6 separate regions of the Homo sapiens genome follow, and regions 2, 3, 4, 5 and 6 are each linked to region 1. The links are contacts of gene promoters, found by promoter capture Hi-C in blood cells and fetal thymus (Javierre and others, 2016). All regions are on one chromosome and are shown on one strand. Each heading gives the region's core, a stretch centred on a gene start or on the middle of the fragment in contact. The rest is flanking DNA. Distances are from core to core; before and after follow the strand shown. Region 1 holds the start of UXS1 (UDP-glucuronate decarboxylase 1). Region 2 overlaps C2orf49 (chromosome 2 open reading frame 49). Region 3 overlaps FHL2 (four and a half LIM domains 2). Region 4 has its middle 2.0 kb from the start of FHL2. Region 5 has its middle 50 kb from the start of LINC02946. Region 6 has its middle 30 kb from the start of LINC02946.

The links. The method cuts DNA at HindIII sites, captures the fragments that hold promoters and counts their contacts. A CHiCAGO score of 5 or more calls a contact.
Region 2: a fragment that was not itself captured here is called in contact with the fragment with the promoter of UXS1 in region 1 in 10 of 17 cell types (neutrophils, total B cells, fetal thymus and 7 more); the score reaches 20.9 in neutrophils.
Region 3: a fragment that was not itself captured here is called in contact with the fragment with the promoter of UXS1 in region 1 in 9 of 17 cell types (fetal thymus, naive B cells, naive CD4 T cells and 6 more); the score reaches 11.1 in fetal thymus.
Region 4: a contact is called between a fragment that was not itself captured here and the fragment with the promoter of UXS1 in region 1, in 1 of 17 cell types (fetal thymus). The highest score is 11.3, in fetal thymus.
Region 5: a contact is called between a fragment that was not itself captured here and the fragment with the promoter of UXS1 in region 1, in 1 of 17 cell types (activated CD4 T cells). The highest score is 6.6, in activated CD4 T cells.
Region 6: a contact is called between a fragment that was not itself captured here and the fragment with the promoter of UXS1 in region 1, in 7 of 17 cell types (activated CD4 T cells, non-activated CD4 T cells, total CD4 T cells and 4 more). The highest score is 9.9, in activated CD4 T cells.

The regions. Positions count from the first base shown.
Region 1 is chr2:106,192,847-106,195,653 of GRCh38, reverse strand. It overlaps UXS1 (UDP-glucuronate decarboxylase 1), which reads left to right and starts at 1,353. Exons shown (of 15, transcript NM_001253875.2): 1 at 1,353-1,506. The coding sequence starts at 1,413. RefSeq lists a silencer at 1,271-1,880 and an enhancer at 2,211-2,260. The HindIII fragment of the contact is 11,333 bases long and covers 465-2,807 here.
Region 2 is chr2:105,340,246-105,343,052 of GRCh38, reverse strand. C2orf49 (chromosome 2 open reading frame 49) reads right to left here. Exons shown (of 4, transcript NM_024093.3): 3 at 1-205. Among named protein-coding and RNA genes, the nearest start is that of C2orf49, 4.1 kb to the right of the region's middle. The HindIII fragment of the contact is 2,746 bases long and covers 76-2,807 here.
Region 3 is chr2:105,361,225-105,364,031 of GRCh38, reverse strand. FHL2 (four and a half LIM domains 2) reads left to right here. Exons shown (of 7, transcript NM_001318895.3): 6 at 561-747; 7 at 2,598-2,807. The coding sequence ends at 2,749. It also overlaps a transcript of C2orf49 not described here. Among named protein-coding and RNA genes, the nearest start is that of C2orf49, 25 kb to the right of the region's middle. The HindIII fragment of the contact is 1,121 bases long and covers 791-1,911 here.
Region 4 is chr2:105,399,639-105,402,445 of GRCh38, reverse strand. It overlaps a transcript of FHL2 not described here. Among named protein-coding and RNA genes, the nearest start is that of FHL2, 2.0 kb to the right of the region's middle. RefSeq lists an enhancer at 2,792-2,807. The HindIII fragment of the contact is 799 bases long and covers 1,050-1,848 here.
Region 5 is chr2:105,558,893-105,561,699 of GRCh38, reverse strand. No RefSeq gene overlaps it. Among named protein-coding and RNA genes, the nearest start is that of LINC02946, 50 kb to the left of the region's middle. The HindIII fragment of the contact is 1,355 bases long and covers 693-2,047 here.
Region 6 is chr2:105,579,488-105,582,294 of GRCh38, reverse strand. No RefSeq gene overlaps it. Among named protein-coding and RNA genes, the nearest start is that of LINC02946, 30 kb to the left of the region's middle. The HindIII fragment of the contact is 4,227 bases long and covers 1-2,807 here.

The DNA.
Region 1 (2,807 bases), core at 104-2,603:
GGGCTTCTCGAAAGAAGTCCACTCCATCTATGGGCAGCATGCATAGCAGGGGCAATCCGCCTTAGCAAACCGCTCAGTGTTTCCTCCTAGTCAGGGATTCTCAACAGGTTTAGGGGAGGGGTAGGATGGAGGTAGGTTTTATCAGAATCACATCATTTGCACTATAGTTTGAAAGATGTAACATAAAGCTGCTGCTTTAGTACCAGCTGCCATATTTCCTTTTCTTGGAGGTTTCTAATAAATCTAAAGGAGGGTGATCTATTAAGTTTTGCAAAATGGCCTGAGGTTCCAAGAGGTAGGAGAGCCGCTGCTGACTTCAACTTCTCCGTATAGCTGAAGATGACCTCTTGAAGCCTGCAGATCCCAAATCCGGGATCTCTCTTAATGTGGCATCACACACATCTGTGTGTACCTGTCTTTTTTTCCTCCATGGGACCAGCTCTCTCCAGATCCAATGACAAGCTTCCGATTATCTGTGGATCTTCTGATACATCTCCTTGCTTGTAATCATCATTCAGTAAATGCTTTTTAAACACAGGTACCTCCTATGCAATCAGTACAGCACTCATAAAACAGATATACTCAACAAAAAGATTGAATGAAACACACACGACAACATGGTCAGGGTTTTTCTCTAGGCAGAGACAGCGCAATTTCATCTTTTCTTTTCCAAGTCTATCCTAAATTAATATACTTAGCACTGCTTTTTAAAATAATAATAAAAGACTATTATTAAAACAAAGGCACCCCAGTTGATCATAGCCAAGGAAAAAAAACGCAGCCAGTTTTTACTTCGGCAAGGTTTAGGGGATTTATCATTTTCGCTGCCGATATTCTAACTAAAAAAAGCCAACTAAACAGCCCAGAGAACGAGGCAACTTTCTGAGGCAGGCATTCAACTTCTAAGGCTCGGCCAAGTTTAGCAAATAAGTTTCGTTTCACTGCAACACCGGAATGCCCACCGCGTGCCCCCCTCCGGGCGGGGCTCGGAAACTGGCCACTGCAGTCGTGCCCTTGGGTTGGGGACGCACCTCAGCGAAACGAATCCAGCCGCACCTCCCGGCTGGCACCCGCGCGCTTTAACTCAGGGAAAACAGACCGGAACGCGCATGCGCCGCGGCGCGCCGCACCGCCCACCAGCCCTCCAGGTCACATTCTTCGAAAACCAAGGCAAGAAAGGCGGCAACTGCGCCTGCGGGTAGAGAAGCCGGAGGGGCGGGGGCGGAGCCGGAGGAAGGGGGTGGAGGCGCGCCTGCGCGGTGATCCCGCCAGCAGGAAGCAGGCGCGCGGGGGCGGGGGCGCGCGGCGGCAGGAGGCGGGGCTCTCGGGGCCGCTGCCGCCGCCGCCGCCGCGCATTGTGCAGCAGGCGGGCCCCCGCGCGGTAGGGCCCTGGACCCGCGCGGCTCCCGGGGATGGTGAGCAAGGCGCTGCTGCGCCTCGTGTCTGCCGTCAACCGCAGGAGGATGAAGCTGCTGCTGGGCATCGCCTTGCTGGCCTACGTCGCCTGTGAGTGCGCGCCCGCTGCCAGCTGGGGAGCCCCATTCATTCCCCGGCGCCGCGGTGGGCCGGGCGGCGGTGGTTCGGGGCCCCGAGGCGGCCCTGCAGCCCCGCGTTGCTCCCCGCCCCGGGCGGGGCCGGCGCTTTCTGCTCCCACCCCTTTCCACTCTTGCAGCAAAGCGGGCCAACTTGGGCGCACACCCCCTACCGCTTAGGCCCGGGCGCGGACCCCGGGCGGAGGGGCCCCTAGCAGTCCTCGGGCGGCCCCAGGTCTCTGCCTCCTGCCCGGGCGCGGGGGACTCGGCGGCGGCGCTGTCGTCCATGTCGCGCTGGGAGCCGGCGAGGGTCCCGGTCGGGGACTCCGGAGCGTGCCGCGTGGGGATACCCTTGGGGACAGCCGAGGTCGCGCCGCGGTGTCGGTTAAGTCGGATAAAAATACTGTGGCCATTGGCAGAGCCCCCGCTCCGACTGTTTGCTCCTCAGGAAAATTACTCAGCGTTTAACTCTTGGGGAGCCAAGTGTGGGCGGCTCCCCGGCCCGCGGCCGTGCCCAGGTGTCGGGGCGCACCGGCATCCCCATTCTAGGTTTTCCCCCGGGGCTCGGCGGCCGGGCGAAGCAGGCAGGCAGCTGGGTGGCCGGGCAGGGCGTGCCTGCAGCTTCTCTGTGCGCGGGTCCAGTTTCTGTCATCGCTCACAGCATGCTGCCTGGAGACAGGGCAGGAGGGGCACTTCGCAGGCAGGTGGTCGGCCCTCTGCTTGTTAGGGAAGTCAGAAACCGTCCTTTTAAAGATCTATTCGTTGGGAATGTTTTAATTGATGCTATTAATACGTTACCAAGTAGCAAAATTGGACTAGAAATAGCTCCCAGTGTGAGCTGCGTTTGAATGCTAGCCACCCAGACACACACTGAAATGAAATCACCTGCTAACCTGTTGGCGTTACCAAGATCTGATTCCAGAGGTGAGTGGGTACTTCACTTGTCTGAAGTGACTTCAGTTGAGCTCTAGGAAGGCAAGTATGAGTAGATCCAGCCTGTGTGCTACAGCCCAGCTGTTCAGGAGGTGGAGCTGGAAAACCCCAGCAGGACTCCGGGTTGCTAGGGGAGGTTTCAGGCGTCGGATGGGTGTTAGATGTGTGTAGTTTTGCAAGGGAGGAAGAACTAGTCTAAAGTGTGTGTGTGGTCAATCTTGAGTAAGAAAGCTGAGACCCAAGAGGAAAGACCATTTAAAGTTGAATAACTATTATTATGGCAGTAATACTACCTACATTTGTTGAGTGCTTAACTGTGTGAGTCATGATTCTTAGTGCCAT
Region 2 (2,807 bases), core at 199-2,698, 850 kb after region 1:
ATTGGAAGACAAAATTAGGGGTGAAACACTCGAAGAGGAATTTGATAATTTTCTAAAGGCATTACTGGTAAAGCTTGCCTGCGGGGGAGGCTTCAGTCGATCATTATCTCCATTCTCTGTCTTTTTCACTTTTATGCTTGTACTTGTTGAACTTCCATCAAATACGATGAGGGGTCTTTTCCTTAACCCATCTACAGTGCTACTCCTGAAATCAAAGAGATGCACTCTTGAAAAATACCATCTGGAACGGCAAACCAGTTCACTGGGATTCAAGTTAAAATAAGCAGTAAACAAAAAGATTTTCTGATAAGACTAATCTGAGACTATTAAAAATGAAATTTTCTATGTTCATTCTAAATGAAAGAATTTCCTAGTGTTTTATTTCAAAGTTTAAAATATTTATGTACAAGAAATTCAAAGTTAGCTTTCATGTATACACAACATGCAGCTATTTTTAAAACATCAATTAACCATCTAGCCCTGGAACTTAAAATGAGATTTCCTAGTTAAAAAACAAACACCAGCTTATTGATAGGGTTATCTTAACCATGTAATCAGTTATTATTTTAAAAGGATGATAAACTATAAAACTATACCAAGACTACCACAGCAGCAATCTACAAATGGGGCACAGCATTCTACTCCATTCAGCAAAGGTCTCTAAAGCCAAGACATTTTCTAAACTAATCGTAACTGGACATTTGTACAAGTTCAATTGTAAAATCTGGCAAGTGTCTCATACTTACCTTCTGGAAATCTAATTTCCACTCTTAATAGTAAAGGTTAATAAGGAAAGCATTCATTTGTTTATTACTTATTATACCTCAGATAATATCTATATCACCTATCTCACAGATGAATTGAAAAAAAATTTATTTTTGAGACGGAGTTGCGCTCTTGTTGCCCAGGGTGGCGTGCGATGGCGCGATCTCGGCTCACTGCAACCTCTGCCTCCCAGGTTCAAGTGACTCTCCTGCCTCAGCCTCCCGAATAGCTGGGATACAGGTGCATGCCACAGTGCCCAGCTAATTTTTGTATTTTTAGTAGAGACGGGGTTTCACCATGTTGGCCAGGCTGGTCTTGAACTCCTGACCTCAGGGTAATCCGCCCGCCTCCCAACATGCTGGGATTACAGGCGTGAGCCACTGCTCTTGGCCCAAAAAAAAACCCTTTTAATTAAACATGTTAAAAGAATCTGAGATAGCCAGTTATCAGGAAGAACATTTTAGCCCTGCCACTCAAAGTGTGATCCAGGGACCAGCAGCACCAGCACAGCAACGTCAGTCAGTATCTTAGGAGCTTGTAAGAAATGGAGAATCTGGGGCATCAACCTGAATACATCAGAACTCACCTTTTAACCAGATTTCTAGCAGTTGGCCAAACTCAACAATTCTTGGGTCATCACTGAACATCATTTGGTAGAAAATGAGAAGTAAGCTCACTGTATACCCACTGCCTTTGTAGAAGGGAAACAGGGACTGAGAGCAGGGTTTGACAGCTTGCTTAATCTAAGATTCAAGAAGCACATTAAAGTTTGAGAAGCACAGGGCTATGTTGCTATGGACCTGGTCCTAGCTCTGTGTGACCTTGGGCATGTTACAGCACTTCTCAGGATCTCAGTTCCTCCACAGATAAAATAATAAGTAGTTCAACAATACAAGATGATCTCTTGGATCCTTCCAGTTTTAATGCTCTGATTCAATTGTGTATTTAAAAAATAGAGTCAAAGATCCTTTCCAAAATGATTTTGGGGGACTAATCAAGACAGTTGTACAAAGATTGCTTCAAAGGAAAGTATGACTGGCACATAAAGTTTTGCTTACTAGAACAATATGCCTGAATGTGCTGATCAAGAGGAAAATACTGGCTGAATAACAGCAAAAGTAAATTAAAAGCCATATGCAGTGTAACCCATATTTATGAAAGTTAACACCACTACATAGTCTGTACTAGTAAGTAAAGTAACCATCAAGCTAAAATGGTCAATCTAAAATGCATTCTTGATCAAAGGTCAGACTGTGTGTGTATTTTCCAAAAGACAATGAGCAGACATGTATTCTTCGACTATTCTTCATAATTGGAGAATAATCTCAATCATTAAATTTTTCTTTGTAAAACAGAGATTAAAACTCAGAGGAACATACTCCCCTTTACCCCTACCCTCCTACTCTGTCTTCTCTCACTGCTTCTAGTGGATTGCCTATGACGGTGCCTTACAAATAGAAGGCCCTAAAAAAAAATTAATTGATCAATAGTATCCACTTGAGATATAATAGACACAGAAGAGTTCACTTAAGGATCTTAGGACACTTTGTACTTATTAACCAATCAACAACACTGATTAATCAAATGTAATTTTCTTTAAAAAAGAAAAAATCACTTGCTTGTGGTTTTATAAAACTGTTTTTGAAATTAAATAATTTTAAATAGCATAACTTAAGCTAGTTAACAGGCCCTTCATTTGTGTATTATTCAAAGACCTTAGAGTTTTACCTGACTTGACTTTTTCCTCAAAATTCAGGAAATCCTATTGGCTCTATCTTCAAAATACATGCATGCTCCAACCCACCAAATTTACTATTGTAGTCAAAGCTGCTGCCATCTATTGCCTGGATTACAGTACAGGCTTCTAATTTGTTTCCCTGCTTCCAGTCTTATACACACCGCTTCCCCTCCCCACACACCTTAAATCACTTCTTAGGACAGCAGCCAGAGTCATCTTGTCAAAATGTACATCTAATGATGTCACCACTCTGCTTAAAACCTTCTAGTGGCTTCTCATCTGAGTACAGCCAAAGTCCTTACAA
Region 3 (2,807 bases), core at 102-2,601, 830 kb after region 1:
ACCTGCCTCGGCCTCCCAAAGTCCTGAGATTACAGGTGTGAGCCACCAGCCCTGCCAGGCTTCTAAGTAAGGACTCCTCATCAACTTGCCCAATTAACCTCATCACCCTCACTTCCTGGATGAGAAAACTGAAGTGCAGAGATCTTTATCATGACCTGCTCCCAGCCACAGGGCTGGTAAGGAGTAGGGTTAGGATTCAAACCCAGGTCTCCTTGATGCTGTATTGAATCCCGACCCCTCCACTGTGCTGCTTCCCTGCTCAGAAAGGTGGCAACACCACTGAGGCACCCTATGCCTTAGATCCCCAGCATCCCTGGGAAGGGCTGAGGGCAACCCCAAGCTCCAGTTTCACTAACGGGAAAGCCAGGGCCTATGACACTGGAATGAAAGCGTGTGGTGAGGGTGACGAGTGACTGTGAAGTTTGTAAAGCAGCTTCTTGGTGACTTAACAAACTGGACGTTTCTGGATGAGGATCTTGCATCGTCCAGTGGCAGTAGCTGAGACTGAAGATGTCTGCCAAGCACAGAGGCCACACTAACTCTCCCCCTCGTCCCTGCAGCCCATCACCACGGGAGGGGTCACTTACCGGGAGCAGCCCTGGCACAAGGAGTGCTTCGTGTGCACCGCCTGCAGGAAGCAGCTGTCTGGGCAGCGCTTCACAGCTCGCGATGACTTTGCCTACTGCCTGAACTGCTTCTGTGACTTGTATGCCAAGAAGTGTGCTGGGTGCACCAACCCCATCAGCGGTGAGTGTCCCGGGGTTCCCATTTCCAGGGGCGATTGGAAGCTTGAACAAGGCCTAGCATTTTAGCCTGTGACCCTGTCTATATCCCTCAACTCCCCAGACCTCCCTAAGGCTCTGAACACAGCAGACTTTTCTGCCTATCTGCTTTCCTCTCCTTGGTGCACTGGCTATGCTTCAGCAAGTAATGATTCCTTCCTCTGCAGCCCACCTGATCACAACCATATGGCCAGTGCTCCAGTTTAGTTTCTGCTTTGGGTTGGATTATCGCTAAAACTGCAGTCTGTGAGCCTGTGACATCACAAAAGCACAATAAAAACTGGCCTTTTCAGGCTTAGCAGCTGTGCTGTGTTCTTAGAAGTGTCCCCTAGCATCTTAGTGGGACGGTTGTACTCCAAAACATCTTAATGGGAAACTTCTACCACAAGGCCATAGCTATATGAGGGCAGAGGGTACATTCTAAGGAGTTTTTCATATTGTATTCCCCCAAAGAATTCAGCTAAGTGAGAGCCCAAAATCTGGCTGGCTGGCAGACCAGGCTTCTGGACTAGACTATTAAGCAGGCTGGAGAAATTCAGTGTGGAGAACAGAGGAGTTCACACTAAAGTCCTTTAAATGGTCACCACATATCGCTACACAAATGAGTGACTGGGTGGGGAGAGAAAAGTGTGTGTTCTGTAATAACACAGGAGAAGTTTTATGATGTGGGATTTGCAATCCCGTTGCATTCAGTTGACTGGTTCGTTCCTATCAGAGGAAGGTGGCAGACACTTGGAGTACCCGGTGGCCTGGCTTTCCTGTGTGGCTTTTCAGTGTAACTACAGAAACACATCTATACACCCCCTGTGTACTTGTCCTTGACTTTCCTTTCCCTTAGGCCTAGAACCAAGTTCACCTAACTCAGCTAACTCACCTTCCCAGGTCGCTAAAACAGTACTCTCATGTGTAATGCAGAGCTCATTACATTTCCATGTGAAATTAAAATATGAAGAAAAGCACAGTATTTACACTTTACCTATGTTAAAATATCTGTTTCTGGTCATTTATATACCAGATTTCCCTTGGAATCTTTTAGGGGGAAAATGTAATCTTTTGCCAGAACATATTCATCTTTAATGCTGTTTTCAGCAGTAACTTCTGTTGAGGTAAATGTTTATAACATTAAGCTTTATAAAGTGATACAATCTATATAAAAGCACTTTTAAATGTAAAACATTAGATATGAATGTGAATTGTGGTTATTGTGGCACTGAGAAAAAACACTAGGTAAAAACCAACTGTATTATAATCACGGACCAATGTACCTTAAATATTTGATTCCATTCTATCTGTCTGCAGCTTTCTCAGGATCTTCCCACTGCGACAATATCCCTCTCCCCTCATTCCCACCCACATCGCACTTTATCTGTGAGGCCTTTCCTGGCCATCCCAGGGAGGATTAACCTTTTCCTCTTCTACACTCCCTTCACTGCTTCAATCATTAAGTCATAAAAATTTGAGCACCAGGCAACGTGAGGCACCTAGTGAAGACATAAGAGAAATCTGCTCCCTCTTCTCATGGAGTTTCATTTTGTGGGAAAACACATAACAAATACACAGTCAGCATTCTTTGATCGCACTTATCCCATCGTTTTGGAACCAGTTTATATATCTCTTCTGATATTCACGAGATCCTCCAGGCTGTGCATAGAATCTGATTTACATATGGATTCCCAACACCCAGTCACTAGAAATTCACATTATCCATATTACACAATCCAAACTTTGAAATGGATCAAACCAGAATTCCTTCTTCAGTCCCAGTTGCCTGATTCTAACTTTCTTCATCCGGTATTATTTTCTCTCTGTTAACAGGACTTGGTGGCACAAAATACATCTCCTTTGAGGAACGGCAGTGGCATAACGACTGCTTTAACTGTAAGAAGTGCTCCCTCTCACTGGTGGGGCGTGGCTTCCTCACAGAGAGGGACGACATCCTGTGCCCCGACTGTGGGAAAGACATCTGAATTCAACACAGAGAAGTTGCTGCTTGTGATCTCACACACAGATTTTTATGTTTTCTTT
Region 4 (2,807 bases), core at 200-2,699, 790 kb after region 1:
TGAAACCTCGTGTCTACTAAAATTATAAAAAATTAGCCGGGTATGGTGGCACATGCCTGTAGTCCCAGCTACTCAGGAGGCTGAGGCAGGAGAATCGCTTGCACCTGGGAGGCAGAGGTTTCAGTGAGCCAAGACAGTGCCACTGTACTCCAGCATGGGCAACAGAGCAAGACTCCATCTCAAATACATATATATATACACACACACACATATATATATACACACATATATATACATATATACACATATATATACATATATACATACAGATACATATATACATATACATACATGTGTATATGTGTGTATATGTGTATATGTATATATGTATATATACGTGTATATATACACGTATATATACACATATATACATGTATATGTACATACATACGTATATATACGTATATATATATTCGTGTATATATACGTATATATGTATATATTCGTGTATATATATATTTAGTTTTTGAATGAGTACATTAACATAGCTCAAAATTTACAAGAAATAAAAATGTGTACAGTAAAAATTAATCTCCTTTCCACCCCATGACCCCTAGCCACTCAGATCTCCCCAGAAGCAACCGCTTATAAATATACATTGTCTTCCCCCGTCCTTTCTTTGCTCATGAACACAAATGGTTGGTTTCTACCTACAAAGTGTTCTCTACTTTTATTTTTCTCAGTTGATTTATCTTGGAGATCATGCCAAATCAGTAAATATAGTTACCTCGTTCATTTTAACAGCCGCATATGTAAATAATTCTAAAATGCACCATACTGTATTTAACTAAGCCCTTGTTGACGAACACATAACATGGCCCAGTATTTTTCTATTACAAACAATTCTACAATGACTACTCTTGTGTGTCTATCGTTTTACACAGGAGCAAGTATATCTACAAGATAATTTCCTATAAAGGGAAATGCTGGGTAAAGAGAAAATGGTATGTTCATCTGTAATTTAAAAATGTTTTCATTATGGAATTTTTCAAGCATTACAAAAGGAGACAGACTAGTAAGATGAACTGCTGCATATCCATCATCAAGCTTCAGCGATTATCCACAATCCATGGCTGATAGTATTTCGTATATATATAGGCCCTATCCATTTCCCCACCCCAAATTATTTTGAAACAACTCCAGGCATAATGTTATTTCACTAGGAAATATTTTGGCACTGTTCTTGAAAAGCAAGGACTTAAGAAAAGAAAAATATATGTGTGTGTGTAATCACATTATCACCCCTAACATAAATTGTTCATTAATACTAGAAAATATCCTGTCAGTGTCATATTTTCCAAGGTTGTCTCATAAAAATTGATTTTCTACTAGTTTATTCTTTGATTAGAATCCAATAAGATCCAAAAAAAAAAAAAAAAAAGAATCCAATAAGATCCATACATGGCAGTTGGCTAAGTCTTTTTTTAATCTCTTGGTTCTGTCTCCATCTCTCTTGTTTTTCTTTGTGCATCGTTGTTGTAGAAACTGGGTATGTTTGTTTCCAGAGTCCGGATTTTACTGACCCTATCGAATGACCACAGGGTCATTTAAAATGTTCTGCTACCCATTAGGTCAAAAATTAAACACAAAATTAAATTGCAGAATTTCTTAATAATAAAACACAACATAGCTGAACCTATGTGACACAGCTAAAGCAGTTATTAGAAGAAAAATAACAGAACTAAATAACTCTATCAGTAAAAAAGCAAAGCTAAATGGATTACACCCGTAAGTCAGAAAGCTAAAAAAAAAAAAAAAATTAAAATATAAGACAAAAGGAATCAGAAAGAAGATAAATGCAGAATTAATGTTTCATCATTTTAGGGCTTGTTTTTACAAACTGAAGCTTAAGACTCACCATTTGAGAACTAGGAGACCATTTCCTAATTTGTAACGATATCAACAACACATCTAGGTAGCTGTCAGGGGCTGGGAGCCTTTTCTACACAAACTTTGCTCTGAATTTCAAAATACTAGCCTGTCTTGACACTTAGTGGAAATTCAGGTAGGGTGGCCTTAACTCAGGTTCTTCAGGAAAGCGTCCTGTTTCAGGGACACAGTGGGGTGGGGTCGGGGGAGGGCTGTATTCCGCACATCTAGTTCTGGCTGGGCTTATGGCAAGTCTCAGTCCTCTGGAGTCACCTGAGTGACTGAGGGATGAGAGGCATTTCTGATCCCGTAATATACTTACATGGCTTTGCCATCTACCACATCCCAGTTCAAATCTCAGCTGGCACAGTTACCGTTCACGTGGCCTGGAGCAAATCTGAGCTGAACTTTCCTCACCGTAAATCTGGTAAAAATCTTTACCTTAAAGGAGTGTGGATCAAATGAGATACCAGGTAGAGCTAGTGCTCACCGAGTGGAAGCTAAGGTGATGAAGCCCCTTTATTCTCAAGTTCTGTGATTCCATGATGGAGACCCATGAGGCCTACCAGACGGAGAGTATCAATTAAAAGAAAGCAATCACGGAGTTCTTCCCGCCTTCTCTGGAGGATGTATTCCTATGAGCTGCCCCGAATGTTAAAAATAATACACCTGCCCCCAAAGTGCCGAGGACGCCTTTGTGGTCCACCTACTCATCGTCCACCGGTTTCTGCAAGTGGACCGGTTACCTGCTCAGGAGCAAATGTTTCCATCACGACGCACCCTCTCCCAGGGATGGGCTCAACCTGTGCTCTCCCTGCGACAATGCTGAACAGTGCCATCTGTCCCTACCCAGCGTCAGCGTCACGCAGAGGGCCCGGGCTTGGAATGTGGGAGGCACGCTCCCAGCTCACTTTGGTTTTCCCGCCCTGGAGGGGAAT
Region 5 (2,807 bases), core at 121-2,620, 630 kb after region 1:
TCAGCTCCCCCAGACTGTGACCTTCCTACTCTCCAGCATCAGGGACCTGCAGTGGAGAGGCGGAGTTTCCACCCAGGGAACAAAGACCAAACCACGCACCGCCCTCCACTGGGGTGGTGCAGGGCCCGACACACACGGGTCTGCCATGGAGGCTGTGCTCAGAGCTCCAGCTCTCCTCGTCTGGTAGAGGTGGGGGGAGCTTGGGAGCTGCCAACAGTGGCCGAGGGAGAGAGATGGGCCCTTGGCAAGGAGGGCGCAAACCTCCTAATGCACAAACATACCGCTTAGGGACTGGGAGAACTGTCACAAATCAACATGGTGTTGTGCAGGCTGCCAAAAGGGCTCATGAGTGAGCTGAAGACCAGATAGGCAAGCCCCTTGGAAATTCCATTGCAGGGTCCTGAGGATGACGCAGGACCCCCTGCAACATTCATGGCAGGAAATGAACATTAAATTAGAGCCAGGCTTGCTTCTTCCCACTAAGAATAGCCAAGGGCACGTGGACAAATGAAGAGCACTTTTCCCTCACGGTTTCAGGGATGGCGCTGCTGGCTGAGGCAGAAGCTCCAAGGAGTCACAATCTCTAGAACAGGCATGCTCTTTCTCTTTTCTATGGGGAGTGGGAGGGATGGGGGATGCTGACTTGTTTAGTTGTCTAAAGAGCCACACAGCTGGAATTTTCCCCACAAGCTTGAACTATAGACATCAGAAGATGTCTATTGAATATCTTTGATTGGCAGGAGTCAAAATGTATGCCGCCGAGACGACACCCACACACCCGTGTTCACAACAGCCCAAGAGTGGAAGCAACTGAAGTGTGCATGGATGGATGGGTGCACGGGCAAAACGTGGCTTATGTTATACAGTGGAATACTACTCAGCCTTAAAGAGGAAGGAGAGTCTACACATGCTGTGATGTGGATAGACCCTGAGGTCATTCTATCCAGTGAAATAAGCCAGTCACGGAAGGACAAACACTGCATGATTGTACCCACATGAGGTACTGGAGTGGTCAAGTTCACAGAGATAGACAGTAGAAAGGGGGTTGTTGGTCTGGCAGGAGAGAGAAGTGGGGAGTTGTTGAATGGGTAGAGTTTCTGTTTGAGAGGTTGAAGAGTGCGGGAGCTGGATGGTGGTGATGGCTGCACAACTGTGTGAATGTGCTTAATGCCACTAAATTGTACACCTAAAAATGGTTAAAATGGCCAATTTTATGTCATGTGCGTTTACCACAGTTAGAAGTAAATAAATGAATAAATTTAAGAAGTCAAATGCTACTCAACTACCTCCTAAGAGCCCGCGGCCCGGGGGTTTTGACAGAACTTTATTAGACACATTGGGAAGTTTCCATCCAAACAGTAGCAGTGAGGGGCTGATGCGTGGGCTTCCTAACCCACATTCGCAGGCCATGCAAAGCAGCACTGGCTCCGCTCCTCATTCGTGGGGTTTGGGCCGCCCAGCAATCCCCACTGGCAGAACCAGCAAGGGGCAGAGAGGGAGAAATGTTCCCCCTACTACACCCAAGCCCAAAGCCGAGCACCTCCAACCTGTCGCCTGGCTGTGCTGGCAGCACGGGCTGACCCCATGGCAGAATCAGCACTTGGATGCCTGATGTGGTGCTTCTCCTTTCAGCCTGGCTCAGGTCTGAACGTGAGGGTCTCAGGGGTCCTGTGACAGTGGCCACTGGAAAGAAGCACCCAATTTGAGAGCTTAAGAGTTAAGATCCCACCAATTTCTGAAGAAACCTGAAGTCTGGTCCTGAGTCAGGATGGTGACGAATGCAGACAGCATCCTCCCCAGAGAGGGGTGGAGGGTGGGAGTGGAGGTGGGGGATGCACAAACCTCAGCACACCAATGTGAACCCTGCAGTGAGCCTGATAGGCAGTACCCGTGGGGTTCAGGTGCTGCACTCCTTCTCCCCGACAGTGAGGGAAGAGAGGGGAGGGCACCAGAGGGCCCTGTCTTAGGGCCAGTGACTCTTAGACCTCAGGAGTAGGAAGGCCCTTAATCTGAACCTAAGGGACCTGCTGCTCCAGGCAGAGAAGCTTTGCCAAGGAAGGTGTGTATGGAGGGGGTTGCTGCTCCATTTCTGAATCAGAAAAGCAACTGAGAACTCCCTCCAAGGGAACCAGAAAACCCAACTCATCTCTCAGCTGCCCACACACTCGCCAGTGTGGGGAGCCCACCACACCCCAGGTGTGTGTGGTGCAGCCTGTCCCGTCTTTCCCCGTAAAGTACTTGCTGTGTAAGAGCTCAAAGTCCTCCCCTGGAGGCAGAGAGGCAAGAAAGGTCCAACCTCCATTCAAAAGGGCTCACAGAATGCCCAGCAGAATAGAAGGGGAAAAAAATTACAGTGATCTGGACAAAGAGAAAACTCAAAAGGAAGAGAGAAAATTGCTAAACATTTCCTGCATGGACAAGCAGGTTCCCTACTAGGATTAAAACCCATGCTGTTTCCTGAAAGCTTGAGAGAGGCTCATAAACACCAATACAGTCATTGATAGAAAGTGACCATCACATTACTCTGTAGTTTAAGGGGGAAGGAAGAGTAAGCCGATTTCTCCATTGATCCTTGCCCAAGACCCAAACACCAGGGGCACACATGAAGTCTGATTAGGTCAGGGTTATTGGCTTGGAGCAGTGAGGAACAGCATACACCACAGTTTTGGGGCATTTACCAGAAAGGGAAAAGATAGAGTTATTATGCTTGCAATCCCAGCACTTTGAGAGGCTGAGGCAGGATGATTGCTTGAAGCTGGGAGTTCAAGACCAGCCTGGACAACATAGAAAGATCCCTGTCTCTACAA
Region 6 (2,807 bases), core at 187-2,686, 610 kb after region 1:
GTGGCTGGAACAAATTATCACAAATGTCGTGGCTTGAAACAACATGAATTTATCATGTTCTATTCCAGCAGGTCAGAAGTCCACAGAGGTCTCACCAGGCTAGAATCAAGGTGTTTGTAGGATGGCCTTCCTTCCTGGAGGATCCGGGGAGAATCTGTTTGCTGGTCTTTCCCAGCTTCTAGGGGCCACCACATTGCTGGGCTCATGGTCCCTTCCTCGATCTTCAAAGCCAGTAATGTAAGGCCAAGTCCTTCTCACATTGCGTTGCTCTGACCTTCTTTGCCTCCTTCTTCCACTTTTAAGGACCCTTATGATTACACTGTTCCTCAACCCCAACAATTCAGGATCATCTCCTTATTAAGGTCAGTTGATGAGCAGCCTTAATTCCTCTTTGTCAGGTGCTATGGGTCCAGTTGCATCTCCCCCCCACCCCCGGCCAAAAGAAAAGAAGTCCTAACCCCCCACCTAGTGCCACAGAATGGGACCTTATTTGGAAATAGGGCCACTGAGATGTAATTAGTCAGGATGAGATCATACTAGAGTAGGGTGAGCCCCTTAACCAGTATGACTGGTGTCTTTTCTCTATCGTTTTTTAGAGATAGGTTCTAACTCTGTTGCCCAGAGTGTTGCCTGGAGTGCAATGGCATGATGATAGCTCACTACAGCTGCGGACTCCTGGGCTCAAGGGATCCTCCCACCTCAGCCTCCCAAGTAGCTGGGACTGCAGGAGCATGCCATCACACCCAGCTAATTTTTTCATTTTTTTTGTAGAGACATGGTCTCACTATGTCTCCCAGGCTGGTCTCAAAACTCCTGACCTCAAGATCCTCCTGCCTCAGTCTCTCAAGCTGCTGGAATTACAAGTATGAGCCATCATGCCTGGCCAACTGGTGTCCTTATAAGTACACAGCCATGTGAAGACCCAGACACACAGGGAGAATGCCATATGGAGACACTAGCAAAGACTGGCATGATGCATTGATGAGCCAAGAAACTCCTGGAATGATCAGCATGAAAGGAGGCAAGAAAGATCCCCACTTAGAAACTTCAGAGGGAGCTTGATCCTACTATACTTTGATTTTAGACTTTCAGCTTTCAGAACTGTGAGACAATAAATTTCTCTTGTTTTAAGCCAACAAGCTGGTGGTACTTTGTTACAGCAGCCAAGGGAAACTAATAAACCTGTAAGGTAGCATATTCACAGGTTTCAAGGTGGACATCTTGTGGGGAGGAAGAGGTATTATTCTGCCTACCATGATAGCCTTAAGGGGATTTTGCATTTTAGTAATTTCCAATGAGAAGAAGTAGAAGGATGTTTGGAGATAATTCTCCATGGGTCTCAGGTTTTTGCACGTCTTGAGAGTGGAAGTGTTTGATGCCTTTGTTCCAGACTATATTTTAAGAATGTTTGTACATCAATAGCCTTGATATATGGGGATAATATCTATCCCTGGAACAAAAAGATTTTTTTAAAATTTTTTGTTTTGTTTTGATTTGGTTTGGTGGTTGTTGTTGTTATTTTTACTGTCAGTGTAATAAGGAAATGTCTCTCTCCAAGGTTACAGTCAGGCAGGCATACTGTCTGTTAGAAAAGACTTAGGTTCCCTAAGCACGAGGCTCCTCTTCTACAGCACAACCCACAACGGTGCAGGTGCCACCATCACCCTGAGGGATGACTTTGGAAACTGGTGCAAGTGCTGACACCCTAGCTGCTGTTGTGGCTGTGAGTTGCAAACTGTCCTCTGCCTCTATCCCAGGCGTCTTGTGTCTTCTGCCAGCATTCTCGAAACTGTGCCAGTTAACAGGTTAACTTGCAAGGAGTGTCAATCTCAGGCCCTTCCCAGTTCTTGACAAAGAGAAATTCAGGTATAAAATACAGAAAGTGAGCGAGAAATTGCAGTGAGTCGTCACTGAACAATTCATCATGCAGGTTAAACAAACCAGGACTTCTGCTTACCTACTTTCTGCCTTATTTGCTAACCCCAGTAGTTCTCCAAGTGAGGGGGTCCCTGGACCTGGGTCCTCAGCGGCACATGGGAAGCTGTCAGAAGTGCACACCTGGGGGCCACACCTCAAGTTTATTGAATTGAAAACTTGGGGTGGGGTGCAGGCCTCTGTATTCTAACAGGCCCTCCAGGGTGCTGAGCATGCAGCTCGAGAACCACTGGCCTGCCTGGAGGTCCAATCCCAGCACCTGTAGGTTCCTGGGTGTGTGGGTGCCCATGGACAGTTGTCATGGGGACCCTGAAGCCCAGGACATGAGAGGCCAGAGGAGAGTCCTTGCCCATCCACTCTCTGTGGCTGCTCTATCTCCACTTCAGTGGTGCAGGGTGGGGTTTTCTGTGTTTTCCATACCTTCTCCCTCTCCGCCATCATTCCTAAGGAGAGCTGGCCTTTTACTAAACTACCATGCTGAAGTCACGTGGTGCCAGTGGGTCAACCTCAGCATGCTGGTCTTACGAGTGCCCCATCTTCAAGGAGGCAAAGTGGACAGGCCAGCTCAGCGGAGTCCCAGGGAAGCAGGGGTCAGAGAAAGAAGGGAAGGAGACTGAGGGAGGAGGAGAGGCCTGTGGGCACAGACTTTTTCCCAAAGTAAAAAATAAGCTGACGGAAGCCCTGCAGACAGGCTCCTCCGCATCTTTGCAAGTTGAGGGGCTGCTGCTTGGCAGTCCTTTCTGGGGGGAGCAGCAACATTCCATGAGGACAAAAGGAAACTGTGCGTACACTCTTACGAAAGAGTGGAAGGTTCCAAGTTTGAATAAAGTCACCACTGGCAGAAATGTAAGAACTGAGTCTTCAGGAACTTC